2 separate regions of the Homo sapiens genome follow, and region 1 is linked to region 2. Evidence: promoter capture Hi-C in 16 types of primary human blood cells and fetal thymus (Javierre and others, 2016). All regions are on one chromosome and are shown on one strand. The core of a region is centred on a gene start or on the middle of the fragment in contact, and the rest is flanking DNA. Distances in the headings are between cores, read along the strand shown. Region 1 overlaps DKC1 (dyskerin pseudouridine synthase 1). Region 2 holds the start of BCAP31 (B cell receptor associated protein 31).

Evidence for each region. The method cuts DNA at HindIII sites, captures the fragments that hold promoters and counts their contacts. A CHiCAGO score of 5 or more calls a contact.
Region 1: a contact is called between a fragment that was not itself captured here and the fragment with the promoter of BCAP31 in region 2, in 1 of 17 cell types (monocytes). The highest score is 6.1, in monocytes.

Annotation. Positions count from the first base shown.
Region 1 is chrX:154,769,422-154,775,966 of GRCh38, reverse strand. DKC1 (dyskerin pseudouridine synthase 1) reads right to left here. Exons shown (of 15, transcript NM_001363.5): 10 at 5,088-5,208; 11 at 2,718-2,836; 12 at 1,262-1,365; 13 at 694-772. SNORA56 (small nucleolar RNA, H/ACA box 56) reads right to left here and starts at 969; the gene lies at 841-969. The HindIII fragment of the contact is 1,797 bases long and covers 1,553-3,349 here.
Region 2 is chrX:153,719,684-153,725,636 of GRCh38, reverse strand. BCAP31 (B cell receptor associated protein 31) reads left to right here and starts at 1,250. Exons shown (of 8, transcript NM_001256447.2): 1 at 1,250-1,303; 2 at 2,349-2,484; 3 at 4,665-4,765. The coding sequence starts at 2,393. It overlaps ABCD1 (ATP binding cassette subfamily D member 1), which reads right to left and starts at 781. Exons shown (of 10, transcript NM_000033.4): 1 at 1-781. The coding sequence starts at 370. RefSeq lists an enhancer at 1-161 and silencers at 622-1,581, 1,792-1,971. The HindIII fragment of the contact is 9,880 bases long and covers 1-3,228 here.

The DNA.
Region 1 (6,545 bases), core at 1,202-3,701, 1.0 Mb before region 2:
CACAGCAGCAGCACGGGGCTTGGGGTGGAAAGGCCCGGAGGAGCTGTTTCTCTCATGACTGCAAGGACCTCTCACAGAAAGCAGGCAAAGCAGGAATTCACATCTGACAAGTCAGAAGCTCCTCCCACACAGCCTGTGCAGGATACTCAGTACCGCCCCCGGTTTCTGAGTGCAGACCTGTCATTCTGTGCTCTAATGCCAGCAGCTCCATGGGGTGGAGTTGCCAACCCATGCTTGACTGACTCTTTCAACACTGGGTGGTGCCAGGTTAAGATGCAATTCTGCTCTCTGCTGAATTTTGTATGGCCTCGAATGTCCAACAGCCATGGCCTCTGATTTCAACACATCTGTCCTACCATTTGACCCAGGGCGGGGGCCAGAATTGACACACACACCACCACCCATTCCATCACTGTGTTGCTGCCATAGCTGAGGTAGGAGTCGAGGCCCATCTGATTCCTGAGCCCACATTCCTCCTCCCAGCAGATAGGACAGAGAATACAAATCAGAGGAGCCTGCAGAGCCCAAACAAGCACCCCAGGGTATGAGGCAGCATTACCTGTGTATGCGCTGCACCTCTGATGCTAGCGTATATGGCTGGACTGCGGACAGTCACAAAGTAAGACGAATGCCAGTGCCTCTTAGGATTATCTCCCTAAGCACATTCCAAACTGAGGACAGCATGCCACTCACCTTCGCAGTTTTTGCTGCTTCGGCAACTACCTGCGGGGCTTTTACCACTTCAGCAACCACCTCTTTTTTGGCAGACTCACTGAAAAAGAGGTAGCAATAGGTCAAATTCACTGAATGGCTTTCCAGGGCAGTACTGATGTTATGTAGTGTTATCTGGCAAGTCTAAAGCCACCATCAAAATACTGACGCTGGACAGAAGAACTCACCACTTACTGTTGCAGACTGACTCCCTCTAGAGTCCCACGAGCCAGACTAGAAAGGGATAACTGTCTGCCGTGCAGGCCCACACCCCTAACTGGCCTGGGCAGCCAAAATCTCACGGGAGCTGAAGAGCTGGTTCCTGTGGTCCTGCATTTAGCAAGTTTGCCCCAAACCAAGTGACTCCCCCTCCCCTGGGCTCTACAACCTCCATGCTCACCTGTTCCTCACCTGTTGTCCATGTACTCCTGCGTCCAGATGGCAAGTGGGCTCTACCTTCCCATCCTCACCTGTTGTTGACATACTCCTGCATCAAGGCAGCAAGTGTGCCGTCTCTACCCACCCCGGCTCTGAAACATCCTGCCCTCACCTGTAGTCAACATACTCCTGCTTCCAGGTGGCAGGTGTGCTGTCTGTGGGCTTCCCATGCTTGTCCAGAAGGCCCTGCTTGATCATCAGCTTCTTCTGACTTGCCTGGTGGAACATCAAGGTGTCAACATTAGAATGGTGTCAATGCTGGAAGCGGGCATGGTGACTACAAAGAATAGAACAAGGTTCCTCCCTGGTGTATTCTCAGCAGGGCCTCAAACTCCTCTCCAGAGCATTCAGAATTTGCCCACTAACTCCAACACACACAGGACTTGTTGAAGATCACAAAGCTTATTAGTGAGAGCCTCTGCAGACATAACGTCCCCACCGCAGCCACTCTACTTTTTTGCCTTTGCACATGCTGCTTGCTCCCAATGCCCTGAACTCTCCCCTCCCCTCTTCACTTCACCAACACCTAACCCACTCTTCACACCGGTGTGGCTTAACAGACAATCCCTTGACCAGACTCCTTGACCACTGTGGACACTCCAGGTGACAGACACCTCTCTGCACTCCTTGGTAGCCACTAACGTGCATGAAATTCGCCATTCCACTGTGTGATTACGTGAGTAATGCCCAACTGTTTCCCCTCATTAGACTGAAATCTCTAAGGCCCAAGACAGGGCCTGTTTCCACTCATCGACAACCCAGAGCCCAGCACAATACAAGGCTGTGGTGGTGAAACACACCAAGAGCTGCCCAAGTATTCAACAATGCCAAACAAAAGAACCTGGCAGGAGCCGCCCCATCCGGGAGGGAGGTGGGGGGGGGTCAGCCCCCCCGCCCGGCCAGCCGCCCCGTCCGGGAGGTGAGGGGCGCCTCTGCCCGGCCGCCCCTACTGGGAAGTGAGGAGCCCCTCTGCCCGGCCGCCACCCCGTCTGGGAGGTGTGCCCAACAGCTCATTGAGAACGGGCCAGGATGGCAATGGCGGTTTTGTGGAATAGAAAGGCGGGAAAGGTGGGGAAAAGATTGAGAAATCGGATGGTTGCCGTGTCTGTGTGGAGAGAAGTAGACATGGGAGACTTTTCATTTTGTTCTGCACTAAGAAAAACTCTTCTGCCTTGGGATCCTGTTGATCTGTGACCTTACCCCCAACCCTGTGCTCTCTGAAACATGTGCTGTGTCCACTCAGGGTTAAATGGATTAAGGGCGGTGCAAGATGTGCTTTGTTAAACAGATGCTTGAAGGCAGCATGCTCCTTAAGAGTCATCACCACTCCCTAATCTCAAGTAATCAGGGACACAGACACTGCGGAAGGCCGCAGGGTCCTCTGCCTAGGAAAACCAGAGACCTTTGTTCACTTGTTTATCTGCTGACCTTCCCTCCACTATTGTCCCATGACCCTGCCAAATCCCCCTCTGTGAGAAACACCCAAGAATTATCAATAAAAAAATAAATTTAAAAAAAAAAAAAAAAAAAAAAGAACCTGGCAGGGCACGCAACCCAGTACCACTTACCTTTGGACCTAAACCCCACTTCCGAGGGTAAGTGTCTCTCTCCATGATCACTCTCTTGATCTTGGCTACTATACCATGGTCGCAGGTAGAGATGACCGCTGTGGTCATTAATGCAATAGCTACAGGCATTGAATAAAGAAAAGAATTATTTGAAGGGTGAAAGAATTGATAATTGATGAGCCCCAATTCTACTGTTGTATGCCACTTTAAAACTTTTAAAACTCTGAGCTACTACTTTAATTGGGGTTACCTTTGCTCAGGATGTGCATATGGAGGAAATACTCCATTATGAGAAGGAGGCCTTTGAAATGACGTTAAACTTCTGAAGTTAAAAAACACCTAACCAAAGCACCTAACGATACACATAACAGGCTTGCAGCTCAAGACGTCTATAAGAACGGCATGCACACTCCCTTTGGGGCCACAGAACCTTTGAAGTTTTAAGGATTCCTTTTCTGCTGCTGTCCATAAGCCGTGGCTGCCTTGCCTGCTCACAGAGCTAAGGAATCCTGATGACATGCTTACTTCTGGTACAAATTAGACCCATTAAATGAATAGCTCTAAGGTTCATTCACTAAGAGGGTGCGCAGAGCATTTAAAGTCTTAAGAGACAATCCAACAGTAGCTAAGCTTTCACAAGTTAAAAAACACTGGTACTTTACATGGAACCACAAAAGACTCAAAATAGCCAAAGCTATCCTAAGCAAAAAGAACAAACCTGGAGGAATCACATTACCTGACTTCAAATTATAGTATAGAGCTACAGTAACCAAAACAGTATGGTACTGGCATAAAAACAGGCACATAAACCAATGGAACAGAATAAGGAACCCAGAAACAAATGCACACACCTACATTTAACTCATTTTTGACAAAGGTGCCAAGAACATACACTGGGTAAAAACCAGTCTCTTCAATAAATGGTGCTGGGAAAACTAGATATCCATATGCATAAGAATGGGAGAAAATATCCGCAAACTACCCATCTGACAAGGGATTAATAACCAGAATATATAAGGAACTCAGCACTATAGGAAAAAAAATCTAATAATCTGATCAAAAAACAGGCAAAAGATTTGAACAGACACTTCTCAAAAGAAGACAAATAAATGGCAAACAGGCATATGAAAAAGTGCTCAATGCTGATCACGAGAGAAATGCAAATCAAAACTACAATGAAATATCATTTCACTCCAGTTAAAATGGTTTATATCCAAAAGACAGGCAATGACAAGTGCTGGCAAGGATGTGGAGAAAAGGGAACCTTTGTACACTGTTGATGGGAATGTAAATTAGTATAACCACTATGAAGAACAGTTTGGAGGTTCCTCGAAAAACTAAATTGAGCTACCATAGGATCCAGCAATCCCACTGCTGGGTATATACCCCAAATAAAGGAAATCAGTGTTATCAAAGAGATCACAGTAGCCAAGATTTGGAAGCAACCGAAGTGCCCATCGACAGATAAATGGATAAAGAAAATGTGGTACATATACACGATGGATTACTATTCAGCCTTAAAAAAGAATGAGATCCTGTCATTTCCAACAACATGGATGGAACTGAAGATCGTTATATTAAGTGTAATCGGCCAGTCACAGAAAGACAAACATTGCATGTTCTCACTTATTTGTGGGAGCTAAGAATCGAAACAATTGAACTCATGGACAGAGAAGAGTAAAAGAATGGTTACCAGAGACTGGGAGGGTAGTGGGGGGCTGGCAGGGAGGTAGGGATGGTTAATGGGTACAAAAAAAAAAAAAATCAGGCCCGGCATGGTGGCTCACACCTGTAATCCCAGCACTTTGGGAGGGCAGATCACCTGAGGTCAGAAGTTCGAGACCAGCCTGACCAACATGACAAAACCCTGTCTCTACTAAAAATACAAAAAATTAGCCAGGTGTCATGGTGTGCACCTGTAATCCTAGCTACTCGGAAGGCTGAGGCACGAGAATCGCTTGAACCTGGGAAGCAGAAGTTGCAGTGAGCCGAGGTCACGTCTCTGCACTGCAGTCTGGGTGAAAAGAGCAAGACTGTCTCAAAAAAAAAAAAAAAAAAAAAACACCACCACCAAAAAACCAAAAGAATGAACAAGAAGAGTGAGACTATTTAATAGCACAACGGGGTGACTATAATCAATAATAACTTAAGTGTATATTTTAAAATAACTAAGGTGATAAATAACTAACAGTAAAATAGGATTGTTTGTAACACAAAGGATAAATGCTTAAGATGGATGCCCCATTCTCCATGATGTGATTATTATGTATTGCATGCCTGTATCAAAACATCTCATGAACCCCATAAATATATACACCTAGTATGTAACCACAAACATTTAGAATTTAAAAAATAAACATCCCCTCTTACCCATGCAGATTGCTTCTCCTTTGGTGGTGATAACCACAATCTCCTGATTGACCTCAATGCCGTCCTCATATCGAAGAACACCTGGAAGCATAATCTTGGCCCCATAGCAGATGGCATTTACCTGCAGAGATGGCACCAAGTGTAAGGGGCCCAGCTGCTGCCCTCCACCCCACTCCCACACCAGAGTAAAGGAGGACAACAAGGGAGTGGGGCCTGACACCAGGAAACAGGGATGACACTTATAGCCCACTAGCTGCAAGGGGCATGAGTGGTACTCAGAAGAGCCACCTCACTGTGCTATAGGTACCACTCTCCGCACATTACACACGACTCAAAAGTAGTAAAGAAGACTTTCAGGTTTTCAGGTTCTAGAGACTCACAAGTATTTTCTTTTTTTTTTTTTTTTTTTTTTAATTTTCAGGCAGAACCTCCCTCTGTTGTCCAGGGTGGAGTGCAGTGGCACATTCTCGGCTCACTGCAACCTCCATCTCCCAAGTTCAAGTGATTCTCAGCCTCCCAAGGAGCTGGGATTACAGGCACGTGCCACCACGCCCAGCTAATTTTTGTATTTTTAATAGAGACAGGGTTTCACCATATTGCCCAGGCTGGTCTCAAACTCCTGAGCTCAAGCAATTTGCCTGGCCCGGCCTCCCAAAGTGCTGGGATTATGGGTGTGAGCCACCGCACGTGGTCCATATTTTCATTTGAAACATAAAAATAGCCTTGGCATTCCTTAATTACTCCTCTCTCCTCCTTATGAGGAGAAAGAACAGATTTACTGGAGATCCAGGCAATAACAGGCTCTTAAAGAACTTGAAAACAAGATTACTGAGCCCTGTTGAACCAATCACACAAAAGTCTTGGTGCAGAATTTATAGGTCAGTGGGTACAAGTTAAGGCTACCTCTCCAGAGGTTCAATGGTACCCAATGCACCCATCTGCCTCATACCATCTCCACTCACCTAGACCTCTTTTGATCACATTCTCCCCTCCCTTTACATTCACCCAGAAGCCAATGGTTTGATAAGGAGAGGACATCACATTTATGTTGTCCACTGTTTTGTGACTGAGTTTTTTCAACTATTATGGTGCCATCTTTCAGTATTTATTACAGCCTATACACATACAAAAAATGTGAACATCTATACAAGATTTGAATATAAATAATTACCAACTACAAACATTTTAAATATCCAGAAATTTTTATCCCTCAAGTTAGAGAAAAAGACAATGTTTTAATTTATAAAAGGCCAACTCTCTGATCATCATAAAAACACAGCTCACAGCCTTGATCTCCTGGGCTCAAGCTGGTCTCAAACTCCTTCCTGGACTCAAGTGATCCTCTTGCCTCAGCCTGCCAAAGTGCTAGGATTATAGGCATCAGCCACTGTGCCTGGCCTAATGTGCCTTATTTTTAAGTATGCCTACCATTAAACTTTTACTTTAAATTAATATACT
Region 2 (5,953 bases), core at 1-2,500:
GGACGATGCAGCGGGCCAGCCTTCCGTCCAGGCGGGCCACATACACCGACAGGAAGGTGCGGCTCACCAAGGCGGCCGAGTGCAGGGCCAGCAGCCCCGTCTCCCGGCACAGGACCCGGGGGAACAGCAGCCGCAGGAGCCACAGGAGCCGCTGCAGGAATACCCGGTTCATGCCAGCTTTGGCCGCCGCGACCCCGGAGGCCTCCTGCGTGGGCTCCCCGGCGGGCGCCTGAAGACCCCTGGCCGGGGCCAGGCACTGGCGCACCAAGGGGTAGACTTTGTGGGCTCCATAGGCCGCGAGGGCCAGGAGCACGGCCGTGCGCTTCAGCGTGTTCCCCCGCCAGGGCCGGGGCCTGGAGAGCACCGGCATGTCACCTGGGCTGGCTGCCGCGTAGGGACTGGGGCTGGTGCCTGGGGCAGCAGTTGAGGCAGGTGGCTGGAAGGATTGTTGCTCTGACCCTGGGCCTGTTGTCTAGGCAACTGGAAACCTTGCGATGGCCCCTGAGACTGTCGCTTTAGGCCCCCGGGGTGGTGCTGGGGCCCCTGGTGCGGTGGGCTCAGGGCCCTCCAGGGTCGCGGCCTCTTCGGGCAGCCCAAGTGGAGGAACTTGGCTCTCCTGTCCTGTCAGTGCCCTGGCCCCTGAGGTCAGGGCCTTGAGAGGTCTCGGGCAGAGGGGGCGTCTCTTCCTCTCCACCTTCTCCTCCTCCTCCTCCCCCGGTGGCGCCCCTCCCCGGGGCACCAGGCGCGTCCGTCCGCTCCGCAGCCTGGCTGAAGCGACAGTGACTCCTCCACCGGCCCAGAATCCCCACCCACTCTTCCCCAGGGGCGAGTCGGGGGAAGGGGAGGAGGCGGAGGAGGGGCGAGGGGCGGAGTCCGGGCGCGGGAGCCCCACCCTGTTCTCGCCCCTCGGCGGGGCCCGCCCACACCCCCACCTCCCGTTCTCGCCCCTCGGCGGGGCCCCTCCCGCACCACAGAGACGTGGGACGGCCGCGCGGACTAGAGAAGCGGCCCTCGCCGGCCCGACAAAGCCCCGCCCCGCCCCGCCCGCGTGCTCGCTCCACCCCGCCCTGCTCGCCCGGAGCCCGAGGCGCCTCTTCCTCTCCCGCTCGGAGCGCCGGCCCTCCGCTCCGGGGCGGGGTGGGAAGCGGAGGTGGGCGGAGCCTCCGGGGCCTCGCGAGGGCTGGTGGGCGGTGCCCGGCGGGCGCTTCCGGTTTCCGGCCGCGGTATGAGGGGCGGGGCCGGGGCTGCTGTGGGAGAGTTCTGTTGCTGCGGCGGGGCCTGCACGTTGACTGTGGGAAACTCGGTGAGCGGGCTCCGCGCGCCGGGCTGGGCTCCGGGACCGCGGAGGCTCCCCGGCCCATCGACGAGGGAGAGAGGCGAGCGGCGCGGGGAGGCCCGGGGGCCGGGGAATCTCGGGGCCCGCAGCCTACCTGCGTGTGAGAGGCAGGGGCGAGGGGAAACCGGGCGGCGCCTCTAGAAGCTGGTCTCGGGGGCGGGGCGGGGGGCGGTGAAGCCCCACCTGGAGGAGCGGCCGGGATGGGCCTCCGGGACGGTGTGCCAGGCCGGGGCCAAGTCGGAGGCCCCTCGCTCTGGGTGGGCGCTGGGGCCCGCGAGGGCTACTGTAAGGACCCCTGGCTTCTGAGGATACTGCGTCTAGAACTTTCTCCGTATGGGGCCTTGAGGTGCTTGGTCGAGACCTGCCTTTGCGCTTGGTCCCGAATCCTGCCCTCTAGGAGTCGCTCTTGCGGGCCTCCAGCCCACCGGAGGCGAAGCGGCCCCGGGCGGAAGGCCGCTGGATCCTCGAGGGAGGTGCCGGTTTCTCTCCGCGGGCGCCGTGGGGACGGTGGGAGGCGGGGGCGTCGGCAGCGCTTGGACTAGGTGCGGCCTTGGGCCTGCCTGGTAGCGGGGATTTGGGCCCGCAGAGCGCCCGCCTCTGCGGCTGAGTTCTGCCTGGCGGGGAAGGGAGCGCCCGATGGGTGCCGAGGCGTCCTCCTCTTGGTGCCCTGGCACTGCTCTTCCCGAAGAACGCCTTTCAGTTAAACGGGCGTCGGAAATCTCGGGCTTCCTGGGGCAGGGATCGTCGGGAGAGGCCGCTCTGGACGTGTTGACACACGTGCTGGAGGGGGCAGGTAATTGACCAGCGAACGGAAGTTTGTGGGGCCTGTGAACGCTGCTGGCCAAGAGGCCCTGCCGAGTGGAGCCCTGCTTCCGCCAGCGCATCAGAGACTTTGAAGCAAAGTGCAGGGGGTCAGGGTGGAGAGTGGCGGCCCCAGCCTCGCAGGGTAACTGAACTGGATGTTCTTGGCTGCCCAGCGCTTACAAGTCCCGTACCTTTTGTGCCCTGCCAGGAAACAAGCTCACATCTTCCTGTGGGAAACCTTCTAGCAACAGGATGAGTCTGCAGTGGACTGCAGTTGCCACCTTCCTCTATGCGGAGGTCTTTGTTGTGTTGCTTCTCTGCATTCCCTTCATTTCTCCTAAAAGGTATGGCCTATGGAGCAAGCAGGCGAGTTAGGCAGGAGGGTGCCTGTGCCCTAGCCCTGGGACTGGTGTGTGCAGCTGGTGGACCCTGGAATTGGGACCCGATGGAACAGGTAGAACCTGTCTGGGGTGGGGGTGGCAGGGGTTGTGTTTGTTATTGCCAACCCTTCCCAGGGTTCTGCTTCGTCATGACTTGCTCAGTTCCTTTTCCTGTGTCCCCTGCCTTCTGGTCTTCAGAATGCCCCCGAGAGGCAGGAAGATCTATGTTACAGTTCTGGAAATGATGCCCTCCCACCCACTCTTGGTCCACGGGGTGCTGGGATGGTAGCGTGGGATTCGGAAGACTTGCACCACTGGGTCACGTTGTTGCTGATTTGGTGACTCTTGTCCTCCTAACTAGTCTCACTGGTATTGCGCAGTGGCTGCATGAACATTACTCAGCCTGTGGAGGATGAAGCCATATTCCCTTTTAATGAACAGAGGACCTGTTAAAAGTGAATTGGAGATTAATTTTAATTATGTATAATACCTGAACACATCCCTATTTAAATTACGATATTACAAATAAGGCCAAATCTCCACAGGTATTTTTAAAAGCCGTTTTTTCGTGAAAAATTATCTTTGATGTGATACCATAGAAAGTATGCAGTGCTGTCTGAGGAGGATTCTTGTAGAAAACCACACCTTCGTACAGTTGACAAGACGTGCAGAGATAGAGGGCCCCGGGGAGCTTTAATCTGGGAAGCTTTAGAGGACAGACAATCTGATTTCTACACAAAGGAAACTGGAAAAGCAAATGAAAGAGGGAGAGGGAAGGGGGAGCTTCCAGAATAAGCTGGATTTAAGACGTTTATCTACCGAATGCCAAATCGGTACCTTGTTGGGTCCGGATTCAAACAAATATCATTGCCTTCAGTGATTGGCATATTCAACTCTAGCCCTGATGATGAGGGCTTCTTGTTGATTTGAACAATATGTAAACACTTCTGAAGTCTCTTCTTAGAGCTGCATCCCAAAGCATTTGTGGATGGAAATGATGTGAGGTCTGGGGTCCATCTCATCATAACAGGGTCGGGGGATATAGACAAACCAAGGTTTATCATGTGGAAAGACAGTTTAAAGAAATAACGTGTATGGGGCAAACATTTGAATATTACAAAGGGGAGTACAATGAAAAGTAAGTTTCCCTTTTCAGAGACTACCAGTATGTTTTCTTTTTGTTGTTGTGGTTTTTTTGTTTGTTTTTGTTTTTATTTTGAGACAGAGTCTTGCTCTGTCACCCAGGCTGGAGTGCAGTGGTGTGGTGCTCGGCTGACAGCAGCCTCCACCTCCCGGGTTCAAGCAATTCTCCTGCCTCAGCCTCACGAGTAGCTGGGACTACAGGTGCCTGCCAACATGCCCAGCTAATTTTTTTTTATATATATATTTTTAGTAGAGATGGGAGTTCACCATGTTGGCCAGGCCGGTCTTGAACTTCTGACCTCAGGTGATCTGCCCATCTCAGCCTCCCAAAGTGCTGGGTTTACAGACGTGAGCCAGTGCGCCCAGCCAACTGCCCACGTTTAAGATTAGTTTTCCAGGCTGGGCGCGGTGGCTTACACCTCTGCACTCCAGCCTGGGCAACAGAGCAAGACTCTGTCTCAAAAAAAAAAAAAAAAGATTAGTTTTCCAGACATTTTGATCTATACGTGGACCAGCATCTTTTTTTTTTTTTTTTTTTGAGACAAGGTCTCGCTCTGTCACCCAGGCTGGAGTGCAGTGGCGCGATCTCGGCTCACTGCAACTTCCGCCTCCCAGGTTCAAGTGATTCTCCTGCCTCACCCTCCTGAGTAGCTGGGATTACAGGTGCCCACCACCACGCCTGGCTAATTTTCGTACTTTTAGTAGAGACAGGGTTTCGCCATGTTGGCCAGTTTGGTCTTGCACTCCTGACCTCAAGTGATCCACCCACCTTGGTCTCCCAAAGTGCTGAGATTACAGGTGTGAGCCATTGCACCTGGCCTTTTTTCCAATAGTCTTGAATGGATGTCAAATTAGAGAATTGCAAGCCACTGAGGCTGACTTTGCATGGGCTATTCGGCCATTGGAGAAGAGTACAAAGCTGGATTTCCATTTTGCTCAGGGCCCTAGAGCTCGTGTGTGTGCTTTCTCTTCAACTCCTGTCCTTTTTGTCTTCTTCACAGATGGCAGAAGATTTTCAAGTCCCGGCTGGTGGAGTTGTTAGTGTCCTATGGCAACACCTTCTTTGTGGTTCTCATTGTCATCCTTGTGCTGTTGGTCATCGGTGAGTGAGCTATGGCTGAGGGCAGCTACCTGACCTAGACCCTGGTCTCTGCTGCAAAACCCTTTGCCACTTTTGATGTGTAGCATCCAGTTTTGGCTGCTAGGAGACAGACCAATGAAATGCTGTGTCTTTCTCTTGAGGGAGGGAAGAGGCTCCCTTTGCCCATGCTGCTGACCGCTAGTCGGTTCTTCACTTTGAGGCCCCTCTAGGCCGTACATGGTGGCTCATGCCTGTAATCCCAGCACTTTGGGAGGCTGAGGTCGGTGGATCACCTGAGATGAGGAGTTCGAGATCAGCCTGGCCAACGTGGTGAAACCCCATCTCTACGAAAAATACAAAATTAGCTGGGCGTGGTGGCGGGCACCTGTAATCCCAGCTACTTGGGAGACTGAGGCAGGAGAATTGCTTGAACCCACGAGGCAGAGGTTGCAGTGAGCCTAAATCGCACCATTGCACTCCAGCCTGGGCAACAAGAGGGAGACTCCATCTCAAAAAAAAAAAAAAGAGGCCCCTCTAGCAGTGGGCGTGGGCTTATACCAAGCAGTTTGTATGCAGCTTATGACGGCCACCTTACATTGCTTTTTTTCAAGACCTTGGAAGGAGGGACGCCTAAGGTTTCTGAGGCTGCTCCTCAGGTCACTCTAGAACTGAAGCCAAGAGAAGCTAACTGGCCTGTGACCTTGGTCTGAGTAGTGCTGCTCACCAGTCACTTAAACAGCAGAATTGCCTGGAGCAGGGCCTCTAATGGGGGACTGAGCAACCAAGCACACAGTGAAGTCCTGCCATTCCCTGTAGTAGTAGGAGGAGAACACAGAGATGTGTGGCAGCATATCTTGGGGAGAGATCCTAGACCTCTCTGCATCTGGGCTAGACTTGAGGTTTTCCCAGGTCGTTCCAGCTCTGTAGTTCTGTAAACTCTGACATTGAGGTGTACACTAGCAGGTGCTTGAAAGATAAACTGGTCCAAGGGCAAGCAGGCTCTGGGATAAGGCCAGGCCAGGTGGTGGTAAGATGAAAGGCAGACATTTTGCAATGAGGTGGTAGGGTGACCATCTGGAGACAAGAATCAATAAAGCTCTTGTCTGACTGGTAGATGTTTGTTGTTTTGCTGTGGTAAGTGATCGATATGTCCCCCTGTTTGGGCTCCAAAGTATTGGCTTGGCTCTGCTGTGGACACCACTCTTGTCT